Regions from separate parts of the Homo sapiens genome. Here all the other regions are linked to region 1. Evidence: promoter capture Hi-C in 16 types of primary human blood cells and fetal thymus (Javierre and others, 2016). All regions are on one chromosome and are shown on one strand. The core of a region is centred on a gene start or on the middle of the fragment in contact, and the rest is flanking DNA. Distances in the headings are between cores, read along the strand shown. Region 1 holds the start of NTNG1 (netrin G1). Region 2 has its middle 90 kb from the start of LINC01676. Region 3 overlaps LINC01677 (long intergenic non-protein coding RNA 1677). Region 4 has its middle 8.6 kb from the start of LINC01677. Region 5 overlaps LOC105378885 (a long non-coding RNA gene).

The links. The method cuts DNA at HindIII sites, captures the fragments that hold promoters and counts their contacts. A CHiCAGO score of 5 or more calls a contact.
Region 2: a contact is called between a fragment that was not itself captured here and the fragment with the promoter of NTNG1 in region 1, in 1 of 17 cell types (total B cells). The highest score is 7.8, in total B cells.
Region 3: a fragment that was not itself captured here is called in contact with the fragment with the promoter of NTNG1 in region 1 in 2 of 17 cell types (endothelial precursors and M2 macrophages); the score reaches 10.4 in endothelial precursors.
Region 4: a fragment that was not itself captured here is called in contact with the fragment with the promoter of NTNG1 in region 1 in 2 of 17 cell types (endothelial precursors and M2 macrophages); the score reaches 8.9 in endothelial precursors.
Region 5: a contact is called between a fragment that was not itself captured here and the fragment with the promoter of NTNG1 in region 1, in 1 of 17 cell types (endothelial precursors). The highest score is 6.0, in endothelial precursors.

What each region holds. Positions count from the first base shown.
Region 1 is chr1:107,139,615-107,142,439 of GRCh38, reverse strand. NTNG1 (netrin G1) reads right to left here and starts at 1,401. Exons shown (of 8, transcript NM_001113226.3): 1 at 1,300-1,401. RefSeq lists silencers at 707-986, 1,007-1,296 and an enhancer at 1,230-1,761. The HindIII fragment of the contact is 6,022 bases long and covers 1-2,825 here.
Region 2 is chr1:105,707,884-105,710,708 of GRCh38, reverse strand. No RefSeq gene overlaps it. Among named protein-coding and RNA genes, the nearest start is that of LINC01676, 90 kb to the right of the region's middle. The HindIII fragment of the contact is 2,614 bases long and covers 156-2,769 here.
Region 3 is chr1:106,010,501-106,013,325 of GRCh38, reverse strand. The region is part of intron 3 of LINC01677 (long intergenic non-protein coding RNA 1677); the gene reads left to right. Among named protein-coding and RNA genes, the nearest start is that of LINC01677, 16 kb to the left of the region's middle. The HindIII fragment of the contact is 2,404 bases long and covers 260-2,663 here.
Region 4 is chr1:106,035,442-106,038,266 of GRCh38, reverse strand. No RefSeq gene overlaps it. Among named protein-coding and RNA genes, the nearest start is that of LINC01677, 8.6 kb to the right of the region's middle. The HindIII fragment of the contact is 1,986 bases long and covers 466-2,451 here.
Region 5 is chr1:106,065,552-106,068,376 of GRCh38, reverse strand. All of the region lies in intron 1 of LOC105378885 (a long non-coding RNA gene), which reads left to right. Among named protein-coding and RNA genes, the nearest start is that of LINC01677, 39 kb to the right of the region's middle. The HindIII fragment of the contact is 1,334 bases long and covers 802-2,135 here.

The DNA.
Region 1 (2,825 bases), core at 152-2,651:
GCAACTATAGGAGCTCAACCTGCGACTTTTCCAAGTAAAGTTGCTTTAAAATCCCCGCTAGGAATTTTCTTCCCTTGCCCTGTAAGATGACAGCCTACTCTTAAGTGGATTTCTGAAGGAAAAAAAAAAAAAGTCCCCGGGTGAGGGTACTAAAATTAACAGCAGAGGGCGCAGTTTCTTTTTATATCTAAGTTTTTCCTTGTATGAATCACTTAATTGGTTATTTTAGGCCCAATAATATTCAGTATTATTTGTATTATATATAGATATCCACAGATCCATACAGGAGTGCAATTCAGTGTCCCTAGCCGAATCCATCAACCGATTAATATGATGCCAGTAAAGAATATGAGAGAATATTCCAAACAGCATCCCTACACCAAGTCTTCCTCTTTCAATTTCCCTTTCTCCCCAGCTGCACAACATGGGATAGTAATGTTTTAATCTAGCACCAATAAAGGCGATTAAAAGAAGGGACTTCAAAAGCTCTCGATGTGGCCACCAGATCCCCAAGGCCGGCAATAGGGCAAGTGTTTTTTTGTTTTTTTTGTTTGCTTTTCCCCAAACAAATATAATTGGCGAAAGAAAGAAAAAATAACGACAAGCCGCCTGAGCGATGTGTGTGGCCAGGTGTGCGTGAGAGAGGGAGAGCGCGGGGCCCCTGTCAGTCGGCGGATGGAGGCTCAGACCCCACGCCTGGGCTCCGGACACAACAAGAGGACGCATCACCGGCCCGGGGCGCACCCCCGGGAAGACTTGTGTGTGGGTGTGAGCGTGTGCCGCTGTGTGTGCGCGTAGGGCTCCGCGCGCTGCCTCCTCGGGGCGCTTTACAAAGTTCCTCGCCCACCCGGAGCCTTCCCTCCCGCCTGTGCATCGCAGCGGGTGGGGCGGGGGGCGGCGGGGGGTGGGGAAACCCGGGGGAGAGGGGCACGGGCGAGAGGCTCGGGTCGCAGTAGGAGAGGCGAGCCGCAGGCACTTACCGTGTGGCTCGTTTGCCCTTGCGCCGGGCGGGAGCCGAGCCGACGGCGCGGGGCGGCGGCCCTGCGCAGCCAGCCTGGTCCGCCTCGGGCGGCGGCCGCAGCAGCGGAGCCCGCGGGCGGCGTACGGGCGGAGGGCGGCAGCTCCCGCGGAGCCTCCTCCCCAGGCGGGAGCGGGCGGAGCGGGAGGGGTGGGCGTGAGGACCCGAGCCGCCGCCACCGCCGCAGCCCGGGGATTCCGATCGCGCCCGGCCGCCGGCGGGAGAGGACCCCGAGGACCGAGAACCCAGCGCCGGCCCGCCACTCCCCGCCGCTTAATTACCTTCGCCTCCGCCCCCGGGGGGAGCCTCCTGCAAGTCGCCCCCTCTCGGAGCCCGCACCCAGAGGGGGAATTCCTTCCCGTTGACGTCCTCTTCCGAAATGCAAAAGATCAGTGACTTTGACAGGTAGATGAGGGGGAGGGAGTAAGGGTGGGCGGAGAGGAAGAGAGGATGAGAAAGGTGCCTCTCCCTCCAAAAATATAGTGATATTAATAATGAGATCTCAGCCTTCGGAGGTCGTGCCAGCCCAGTCCCCTGCTCGCCGGCTCTCCTCCGCGCCTCCTCGCTCCGCTGCCTCTGACACTTCTCGCCTTAAACTTTTACTGAGGGATATTTTTTCTTTTTTCTATTTCTATTTCTTTTTTTTTTCCTCTTTTTTTTTTTTTCAAGCCGCAGGACGATTTTCTGGTTCCCGGGGATCAGAACCAGCGGCCAGGCGGTTCTATGCCGCTTGGCACCGCTTTCATTTTATTTCAGATGAAGACGTTGAGCTTAGTCAGAAGGGGCATAAATCAGGACAATTAGCATTGGCGCCAAGAAGATCCTCTAATACCAATTTCGCCCGGGTTTCCTTCGCGCATTCCTCCACTCAAGTCAGAAATGTCACTGCACATAGCACTGATGGCAGTGAGACGCGACGCACCCAAAGTCCGTTTGATGAAATATACATGGCCCACGACGCTTCTGGATTGCGGCTCCCGGACTCCCCGCCCCCACCAGCGGCTCCCGGCCGGGACCCTGCTCCGAGCGGGCAGCGAGCTCCTGGCAAACTTAGGGGCCAGTGCCAATTAAAGAGTGAGCGCGAGAGCCGGAAAGAGGAGCGGCAAAGAAGCAAGCCCGGGGAAGCCGCAGCCCTCGGAGGGGTGGCATGTACGTTTCACTTAAAAAGCAGATCTTCTTCTGCAACTGCCAGCAAGTGGAAGGATAGCAAACCTTATACTACCTCGAGACCTGTGCGCTCCGAGCGGTCCTAACTCCGTCCCGCTCGCTGTTGCTGTTGCTGGTGCTGCTCCGGCTGCAGCTGCTGCCGCTCCACGACCTCGGGGCGCTGAGGCAACAGGGCCCCCTCCCTCTACTCCCCATCCCCCCCGGCTCCTCCACAGAAGCGCCGTTTCCAGTAACTCCTCGTGTACCTCCCACTTCTGCCGCCGTCCATCCCACCCCTCTCTCTTCTGTCCCCTCCCCAAACCGTTCCCAAGCACACCCTTCGCCGCTGGAAGTGATCACAATGTTGTTTTTCAACAAGCACTTCCTTTGCCCGGAGGCCCCTACAGCCCTAGACTGGAAACTCCTCCTTTAGAAATTCATTCCCCTTTAAAAAGTTGAAGTTCAAGGGAGAGCTGCGCATTTCAGGCTTCCTTGCCTTTTCTAAGAGAAAGACAAATGCTCCGATGCTCCAGGCTTCATTCCCCACCAAGGCGGGCTCAGACTCACCTGGGATCACTCTTAGCTACACATTAACGTCAAACAGAAACAAATCCGAATTTAGATAAGATAGGGAGACTTCCATTAGAAAGAAAGACTATTG
Region 2 (2,825 bases), core at 213-2,712, 1.4 Mb after region 1:
ATTAACAGTTACAGATCGGTTTTTCTAAGGTAAGAGTTTAGTTTTAGATTAAGAAAGGATAAAACTCTCCTTGATTTCATATTATAATACTTTTGTAGCTGCTTAGAATTTTGATGTAAACAAATAATCATTAAATTTTAGGGGAAATAGAAGCTTAGTAAATTAGACTTTGACTGAACTCTGTTTTCTTGTACTTTATGACAAAATTCTAATGTAGATTCTCAAAAAATAGAATATTTCACCTTAAGCAATACAATCTTCAGCAGACTGAAACAATTTGTTTGATTCTGTGGCATACCATGAAATTTATTTTATTCTTTCCTTAGTACAAAAATAATTTCTATGGTATATATTTATTCTGCTTTTGAAAAAGGCATTGTATATATTCATTTTTGATGTAATTGCTTTTTTATTTTCTAGATTGTTGAACTTAATATTAGATGTCTTAGTTTTATAATTAGAATTTTTAACTAAAGAATAACAAAATTACTTCAAAGAGCATTAGTCTGAGAAATGTCTTTTAATTTGATCTTTAAATGCACATTCATGATTCTATTTCTTTTTATGGTAAAATTATCTCCCAAAATTATATATGATAAGGGTTAGAGTTGTCCTCCTAACATTAGTGTATATTATATTTGTTACACTTGGATATACTAAATAGTATGCTGATTTATATTACTAAGATAACATAAATCTTCTTAGGTGACCTGAAGTAAATTAGTTAATCTCTCTGCTCCATTTTCACATCTTGGAAAGAAGGATACTAATAATACCTAAAAGTAATATGATGATTAAATTAGATTAATACATGTAAAGTGCTTGGCAAGGTGCCTGGCATAAAATGTGCTCCCAATAAGTATTAACTATTATTATTAGAACAGTTAGACCTAGATATAGCTTAATATTAATTAACGTTAGTTATAGATCCTTGGGGTGATGTTAACTGTAGAAGAATTATAAACTAAGGGTCTTTCTTAGAATTTGGTTTATTGCATTGCTAATTTCTTCTTTGTTAAAGAAAAAAACAGGCTTTATGTATATTACAATGATGTAAAAACAAATGATATTTAAACTAAAAGATTAAATGAGAAATCAAGAACAGAAGGAGAAAATATTGTTTAAATAATTAAAAAATCAGACATAGAACTTGAAACAAATATGCTTAAGATACATGCCCAGTCTCATGATTTCCTAAGAAAATTTTTACCTTGAATAATAAGTAGGCTTGAAGGAAATGTGTCATGTAATTATGTATTCTAGAATGTGATTGGATAGTATATTTAAATAAATGTTTTTTAGTACTACTCAGAAGAGAGGAAGCCCTTGAATTACCTTGAATACAGAAAAGTTCTTCACGATTTCCAAGAAGCTGGGTAGTCTATATTACACACTACAATTTGCCAATTTGGATTTACAATGACAAATGAAGAGCAATGATATGTCCAACTTGAGAAACAATTGTCTTTATATTATTATTGCAGAACATCCTCCCTGCATACTGTAAGAGGGAGAAGATTAAGGCTGTGAATCAGGCTGTACTTTAAAATAAAAAAGATTTATGTGATTTTGATCAAATTATTGGACTACTGTGTTGATTGGTATCTTGTAGATTTTTGGTGATGTTAAGAAATGAAAGAGATGAGAGAGAGAAGGACTGGGGTGGAGAAAAGAGAAGAGTATGGATAGTGAGAATGAGAGGAGAGGTGAGAAAGAGAATAGAGAGGAAATCTGGAAAGCAGTAAACCTCAAAATGCTATTTGAATGAAATAAGATGTCCTTCATAAAGGATTTAAGCACTGTCAGTTCAAGGTGGCCAATCAAACAAACACAGTGGCCTCTCCATCCTAGGAAACCAGCATAGAATTAAATTCTTAGTGAATCAGAGGCTTTAAAAATGCGATGAATTACTATCTCTCAAATAATAAAAAATAGATTATTTTTTCTTATGTTCATTGCCTAAGGTAAGCAGAACTAGAAGCTATTTGTACATGTCTTGTGTCACTACTTACACATTATTTGTGTGGTTTCATTTTAGGTACATATACTATAAATTGACATTGATTTTAACGATGACTCTATATTTAATTGGTGAATTCATCCTGTTGATCTTCATTGTAGTTTGTGAAATGTTTCTATTCATTGTGTTTTCTTATTTTTTCTTTTCCATATCATGGTTTAAGTTTTATATTCTTCCTCTCTGTACACATTCTGAACCATTCAGTTTTTATTTTTTTCTGTTATTCAATTATTTATTTTATTTTTATTCCATTTGATGACCACTTCTATTTATGAAAGTTGTGCATTATACATCTATTCCTTTGATCATTACATTCACTTTCAAGACAGCGTTTCTCTAATCTTAATTTTCACCTCTACAAAATTGTAACAATTGTAGGTGAGAATTTTTAAATTGTACACAACTCACCTTGTTTCATTTTTATCCAGAAAACCAATTTTTCTTCAATTATGAATTTACTAAATTATTTTTTCATCATTTCTTGTATCTTATTTCTTGCCCCTGAGTTTACTAAACTTTTCTCAGCAATGTATCCTACAATAGTGGTTACTTTCAGGGGTTTCAAAGGTGACGGATTTTAACAATTTCTTAAAATGTAAAAAAGTTGTAGTTGCTGAGAATCACTTTTAAAACAGTGCCGAGGTGGGTGGATCACGAGGTCAGGAGCTCAAGAGCAGCCCGGCCAGCATGGTGAAACCCCCTCTCTACTAAAAATACAAAAATTAGCCTGGTGTGGTGTGGCACAAGCTTGTAGTCCCAGCTATTCAGGAGGCTGAGGCAGAAGAATCACTTGAACCTGGGAGGC
Region 3 (2,825 bases), core at 212-2,711, 1.1 Mb after region 1:
TGTCCCCAACAAAATGTCATGTTGAATTGTAATACCCAGTGATGGAAGTGGGTCTGGTGAGAGGTGATTGAATCATGAGGGCTCATTTCTCATGAATGGTTTAGCACCATCCACTTTGTGTTATCCTCGTGGTAGTGAGTGGATTCTTTCCAGATCTCATAGTTTTAAGTTTGTGGCACCTCCCCACTTCGTTTCCTGCTCCTGCTGCCACCATTTGACTCACCTGGTCCCCCTTTGCCTTCTACTGTGATTGGAAGCTTCCTGAGGTCTCCCTAGAAGCAGACACCACTATGCTTCCTGTACCGCCTACAGAACCATGAGCCAATTAAACCGCTTTTCTTTTGAAATTACCCAGTCTCAGGTATTTCCTTACAGCAGTCTAATGTGAGAACAGCCTAATATAGGTCCTAAATATGTCTGGCATGTATCAGTGTATAAAAAATAACAACATTAAAGAAAAATTAATTGGAATTATTGTGATTCATACTATACATATGTAATTTAAGAGTATTAATGTGTTATTTTAAGAGACTCTATTAATCACATATTAATTTTGAAGATGACTTTGCTCATTGTTTGGTTAAGTATAATAGATTTCCCCAGATAATACGAGTTACAAATGCTTTCATTTTTGTGCTTTGAAATCACTATAAGAAACTTCATTGTGCTCTTCTTCTTTAGCTCTCAATCCAGTATAACATGTAAGTGAATTACTGTAATTAGAGTTGTCTTGTCATTTCATATTTTTGATAAAAATTTGGAATTGGTATTTACACAATCACATCAACAAACCTAATTAACTTCTCTACATACCCTTTACTAATGCAGAGTGAAACATCCAGGAACATGAAATATATTCTGTAAATTCAAAGGCCATAAAGGAAGTGGAATGTTGGATCAGAATAATGCCTAATGATTTAGTGACATTACAGTTTAATCTTCACATGAATATTTTGAGTTAGAGTATGTTGTTCATTAATTGGTTGATTATTTTATTCCAAAATATTTAATTGGCATGGTACTAGCTGCCATAAACTGTTTTAGGCACTAATTATACAGCAATAAACAAAAGAATAATACCTGCCCTGACGTAATCTACATTACTATTATTGTTACCATATAAATGAAAATAAACTGAGTTTAAAAAGTTGTTTTGGTTAATGTCACAAAAAAATGTGAGAGTTGAGATTTTAATACAAAGTTCCTTGACCTCAGAGTGAGTGCTGTTACCATACACACAGCAACATATGGCCTGTAACAATAGGCTACCAAGTCATAGATTTGTTAGGTCCCCAACACTGAAAATTAATAGTGAGTGGAGCTTTCTAGTTTTAAAAATATGTTTCCTAGAGAATGCTATAAAACATTGAAAGAAATCAAGGTAAAAAATCATGAATTAAACTATGTCTCTAAGAAACTCTGTAGCCTGTTCTGTTCCTTTCTATGCCTGATAATTTACTTGAATTGTCTTTGAATCTAAAGGGACAACAGAAAAGAATATTAGAGTATTTAAAATATTTAGACAATAAGTATTGTTCTGTATGTAACTTTGATTATTCCTTAAATTATTTTGGAGCAATCAAGATACCTCAAATACCTTCATTAATCAATTAATTAATCAATATCAGTTACAGCTGAAGAAAGAGGAAAACTTATGAGTTATAAACATATTCCATGTGTGATTGTGAGGCAATTCAATTTCAGCAATAAATTTTCAAATTCTAAACTTCCTTGAATTCAAATAGGCAAGATATTTATTTTAAGATTGCAAGAATTTTGATAATTATTTTCATGTAAGTATTTGTTTAATATTTCCTTGATTAACCATATTTTCCATGAAAGCAGAAACCTTTTCTTCTTGTTCACTGATGTGTCATCATGGCTTATTACACTTTGTATGTGATCAGTAAATGACTTAAATAAGTGAAGGGCTGAATGCTCCCAATAGTAACAGATATACAACACTCATCGCATTTTTGCCATCAAGCATTATTATTTTATTTATTTATTTATTTAAGCAGACGGAGCCTCACTCTGCCACCCAGGCTGGAGTGCAGTGGTGTGAATTCAGCTCAGCTCACTGCAGCCTCCACCTCCCAGGTTCAAACAATTCTCTGATCTCAGCCTCTCGAGTAGCTGGGACTACAGGTGCGTGCCAACACACCCGTCTAATTTTTTTATTTTTAGTAGAGTCAGGGTTTTGTCATATTGGCCAGGCTTGTCTCAAACTCTTGACCTCAAGAGATCCGCCCACCTCAGCCTCTCATTGATGGGATTACAGGTGTGAGCCACAGCACCTGGCCATCAAGTATTATCAATAATAATACTCAGTAATAATTTAATTAGTTAATTTATCAGGTGGGAGATTAACCTAACTCTTGTTATTATTTGGTTACTGGTGAGGATAAACACATTTTCTTCTGTTTATGTTTTTTTTTGTTAAATTCTTCATCTTAAATTGTTCATATGCATTTATATCTATTGAGATTTTACTTTATGTTTATGTTTTAGTTTAATTGATTCTTGTATGTAACAAGCAAATTGGCTACTTATATTTTCTGGGCAGTAAGCTGTCCCTTAATAGAGTATAAGACCTATCTCTTTTAAAGTGTTTTCAGTAATCACTGTTACTTTCTGCCTGGCACACGGACTTGGAAGAAGCTTAACAAGGCTGAGTTAAGGAAGAGGAATACCTGAAAACTAGATGGATAAGTAAGGCTTCCCCTTCCCAGATTCCAAAAATTGGGCAAGTAATTGACTCTTTTATTTGTCAATTAGTCTAATGATCAAGGCAATAAATATAAAACTGCCAATGTAAAACCTAT
Region 4 (2,825 bases), core at 209-2,708, 1.1 Mb after region 1:
AACAAGCCCTATTTGCAAGGAGAAAAACATATCTAATTTGAAAATGATGTAAAACTACTTGTATCACAAAACAGACATCTTACTGCAAACTTAATGAGGCCAAGGTCACATTGATATATTCTGATTTCTAATCTTTAAATGTAATATTCTTTGTAGAAAGAAATCTGTGCAGAGATTTTAAAAATTGAATTATTTCTATTGTTTTTTTTTTGTTTGTTTTCTGTTTGCTTAAATTTTCTCAGATTATGCATGAAGACATTGAGTTCAAATGATGGTACAAATTTTTGTGTCAGGGTGTAAAATTTCAAGTAATTAAAAAAGAAATGGAAAGCAGCAAATGAACTCTTCCTTAGCATTATTAAAAGTCTGCAGTAAAAGACCCAACAAAGGAGAAAGAAAAGTAGAGAGACAAAGAAAGAATTAAATTTAAAAAATCCACAGATATAGCCACATAGTTGTCAAGCTTATTCCTGAAATGAGATCTGACATGCCAATATCAATTGGGAAAGATAAAGGTAATTTCAGTGTCTCTAAACATTTAGAGGAGCTACCAGAACAAAGTCAGTGAGATCTGTATCAACAATGTGGTTACAGCACTGGGAATGCATTGTGGGATTTTTTTTTTTTTCAATAAGTTGATCTAAAGAAGCCTGGCCAAGCTATTCACAGTCTCTGTTACATGAGTGTCACTTTGCAAAGTAGAACACACACTTGGAAGTGTTACCCTCCAAATACATTTTACATGTGGATTATGATTTAAAATTTTTTCTATGATCTAAAAAAAAGTGAATTATAATAGACTGTCAAAGAAAAAAATGAAGATGGAAATATACTATCATTCAGAAAGTAGTTACAGTCAAAATTTAGCCAGTTCCACTGTGAAAATTTGGTTTTTCTCTTTAACTTTTTCTCCTTTTTTCGTTATTAGTTTTAAATATAGGTTACGATCAGCTAACTCTGATTTCATTTGTTCCTCTTACTTTTTCTCAAGGGGCAGGAATACCTTCCAAGCAGGTCTGTAGTTAACCTGGTCATTTTTAAACTTTCAGCACGTTTAAATGAATGTTTCACAAATCAAATTTCTGAAGCTCAAGCTGCAACTTTCACTGTCTTTCTATGTAGCATTTGTAACAGTCATGGTACAAAGAAAAGGAGAACCAAGGTGAAGGGTATAGAATAAATGATTTACAAAAGTTAGACTCTAAGCAACCATGGGAGTTGATGGGACATTTTTGGCTGGCTAATGCTCCTGTGTCTAGCGTTGAATCTAAAGTCATTATAGCTTGGCCAGACAGTAATTAAAAATAAAATCTGGATATGAAAAAGATTAGTAGCAAATTGGAACCCAAAAGGATGAAATATCTGTCTTCTCCCACCTCTTACTTTGAAGCTATTGGAGACTTGTTATGAAAGCTGCTGCCTTTCACCACAGAGCTACATGTGCACTTGGCTTAGGACTCAGAGACTTTGAAGAAGATTTGCAGGAGCTAGAGGTCCAGATGTTACGAGCAGCAAGGTGAGCTCTAGATCAGTGACAACAACATTCTAAAGCTATTGTGGTACCATGCACAGGTTTCAGAGTATAAAAGTGTACAGCTGGTGATTCTCTTATGCCTTTTGGAAAGCAATCAAATGTGTCTTGTAACAATACTAACAGCAAACTACACAATAAAGACAACTAGGGAAAACGTAGTCCTAGCTTAGGTAACCTGATAAAATGCAAATTCACTAAAATCTACTCTTTGGCAAAATTTAACCCACACAGTTTTCTTTAAGCAAATAACTTCTAAATAAAGACAAGAACAAACCATGCTTTTGCCTAATAGGCGAAATGACCCCTCGTACAACTGAAAACTTGCCAACCATGCTCCCCAAAAGAGGTCGCTGCTTTTCAAAAATAAGTTATTCTTTTAAATTAGTCATATTGTTTTGTATATTAAAACTTAAACACTGAAATTATAAAAAAATCCTACTACTAACACATACAATGCTATATGATAGGGGAATAGGAGAGGGAAATACATCGATACATGTATACACAGACAATATGAAAGTGAAAAATAAATGTTTATAATTATTGCAGTGCATATTGCTCTAACTGGTCAGGGCCAAAGTTCTTCCACTAGCCATTCCATATTCTTCTGGATAGTCATTATTTCCTGTAGGGTGTGTTGTCCCGAAACTTCATTTCTAAATGGTCTGGGTCATTTGCAGTTCTGTCCCATCAGATTAGCTGTCTGTTGACTCTAATCAGCAAGGATAAGAGCTCTAAGAGGCATTTCATGAGATCTCCTTCATTTCAGACTTGACCATTCTCACCCATATTGTGCAGCAGCACCCCAATACCTCCTGAGAGTCACAATAAATTACCTGTCTCTAAGGTTCTTTTTTCCCTGATGGTTCACTAGCATTAGGGCACAAAACATCTATGTGAAATTTCAACTCTAAGCTTAACAAAACTATTGGTTTATCTTTTGGAAGAATCCTTTTCCTTTAGAAACAGGAATAAGAAGACCATCAGAGTCCACAGTTGCAGGGATGGGAAGCAAACCTTTCTGGATCACAATGGTGGGTAAGAAACGACACTTCACTGTTCACCTTTTCACTTCTGGACTTGTGAATTCTGGCTATGGTAAAAACATAACCATAGAGTAATCACTGATTTAAAGTTTACACTTTAGCCTGAGTAACATTACCACAGTGTCCCAGCATAGACTTCAGTAGGACATTTTACTGTTCTGTCAGGAAAGCTATTTCAAGGTGATGAGCAAAATGGTAAGATAAGTGAATGCCATGAATATATGCAAATTTCTTCCTTTCACTTT
Region 5 (2,825 bases), core at 219-2,718, 1.1 Mb after region 1:
TAACAAATACATAGATTAAATTTAAGATGTTTAAATATTCTTCCCTGGGATTAATATACACATTGCATTTTCTCAGTGTCAATCATTTTTATAGCTATGATTTATTATAGTTGTTATACTCTTTTTATAGTCTTTTTAGACATTTTTGAATTGCCAAAAATGATAAGTATAGATGCTAATAAATGTAAAACTTTGTAAGGAAATATGTTATTTATTAACCATTAATATGAGCTTAAACTTTTCATATTCAGAACAAGTTATTGTTGCCTTTGATGATATTATTAGAAAGACATTTTCATACAGTGTTGAACAACTCTATGAAAAGAATGTTTCCATATGCATGAATATATGAAAATAACTATTTTACAAAGAATAGCTTTAGCTTTGTATTTTAGGACAATTTTCACAGTGGGAGAAAGAACCAGTAATATATTTACTCCAAATAATCAAAATACGTTAGGCTCACAGTCAGGTACATAATTCATATGGCCTTCAATAAGTACAAGTGGTCTTGATGATTTTAGATGATTAGTTTTTAATTCTAGGGATTCCTAAGAGCTGAGCTAGAGGAAAAAAGTGCAGTTTTCTGATAATGTTCTTAAGCACATATAAAGAAATAAAGTTTTAAATTGTATGCCAGGAGCTAAGCTATACATGCATGACACAAAGAAATGAACTAAAATTGTAATTCTTGACAGATGATTGCAGTCTAGCTAAAATGTCAGTGACAAAAAAGATTTAGTAGCAATTTTGATTAAATATTCAATGAAGGAGGAAATAAAAAGAGACAATGAATAAGCTTAGGAATATGTGGAAAGAGATGCGTCCATTTACTTGATAGTCTCCAGATTAGAAAAAATTAATAATAATAATCATCATCATCATAATGAATAACAATACATCTATTTTTTATTGATTTTCAAAAGCACAGTCTCTCCTGGGATCAACTGCTCACTTTTTATCTGTCTAGTATAGGTTTTTCTGCTTCTTGGTTTGCCAGGTCCCTGGCTTGTTACTAGTTTGCCAGAGCTGCAGTTCTTGCTTTAGTCAACTTCACTGAGAACATTCGTCCTCATCATGCCAATGATATTCTGGATCGCACCTTGTTCAATATGCCTTTATACAGATAAAACTCTGGCCCTTTCCTGCTTAATTCTGGGCTTGCTTGACCCTCTTCCTCAGTTAAACTAAAATTTCTGAATGGGCACTGAGTTGTTGCCTGTTATTCAAATACAAAATTTCTGGACCCATCCACAAGGACTCATGAATCATAATCATCTACATATTAAAAGGATCCTCACATAATTTTTGGATACACATATTTCAGAACCAGTTATCTATGTTGTTTTGATTTTTTAAATTCTAATAGTTTTTCCATTAGGCAAACAAAATCATCCTATGCTGATTGGTTGATTTTAAAACTTTTAATTAGACAACAATGTATTTTCAATACATGAAGTAATTTGTGACTAACAGAGATGTCTAAGAAAAGAGAAAGCCTTGAATAATCTTGAATGATAAGAGATATATCAGTTTCTATATCTGTTCATCACTTGATGGACTCTTAGGTTGATTTCACAGCTTAGCTATTGTGAATAGTGTTGCAATAAACATGGGAGTGCAGATACCTCTATGACACACTGATTTCATTTCCTTTGGATATATACCCAGTAACAGCATTGCTGGATCATTTGGAAGCTCTATTTTTATTTTTATTTTTTTTGAGAAACCTCCTTACTTGTGTCTGTGACTATGGAACTTAATATCCCACCAGCAGTGTATAAGAGTTCCTCTTTCTTCACATCCTTACCAACACTTGTTAGCTGTTGTCTTTTTGACAATAACATGTGTGAGGTAATATCTCATGGTTTTAATTTACATATCCCTCACGATTAGCGATGTTGAGCATTTTTCATGTACTTATTGGCAATTTATATGGCTTTTCAGAAATGTTTCTTCAGGTCTTTTGCCCATTTTTAATTGGGCTATTTGTTTTCTTGCTGTTCAGTTGTTTGAGTTCTTCAGATATTTTGGATATTTACCCCTTACCAGACACACAATTTGCAAATATTTTTCTCTCATTCTCTAGATTGTCTTTTCACTTTGTCAATTGTTTTTATTATTATACAGAAGCTTTTCAGTTTAATGTAATTCCATTCATGTATTTTTTTTGTTTTTTTTTGCTTCCGCTATCTGTGTTTTGAGGGGTCATATCCAAAAGACAGTTGTCCAAACCAAAGTCATGAAGCTTTTTCCCTGTTTTCTTCTAGTGGTTCACAGTTTCAGGTAGTACATTTAAGTCTTTAATCCATTTTAAGTTGATTTCTTTATATTGCCTACAGTAGAAATCTAATTTCATTCTTCTCCACATGGTTATTCAGTTTTCCCAGTACCATTTATTAATTAATTAATTTATTTATTCATTTATTGAGATGGAGTCTTGCTCTGTCACCAGCTGGGAGTGCAGTGGCGCGATCTTGGCTCACTGCAACCTCTGCCTCCTGGGTTCAAGCAATTATCCTGCTTCAGCATCCTGAGTAGCTGGGACTACAGGCACGAGCCACCATGCCCAGCTAATTTTTTATATTTTTAGTGGAGATGGGGTTTCACCATGTTGGCCAGAATGGTCTTGATCTCTTGACATTGTGATCTGCCTGCCTTGGCCTGCCAAAGTCTTGGGATTACAGGCGTGAGCCACTGCACCCAGCCAGCTCCCAGTACCATTTATTGAAGGTATTCTCCCTTCCTCATTGTGTGCTTTTGACAACTTTGTTGAAAATGAATTGACTGTAAATGCATGGATTTATTTCTGGGCTATTATGTTA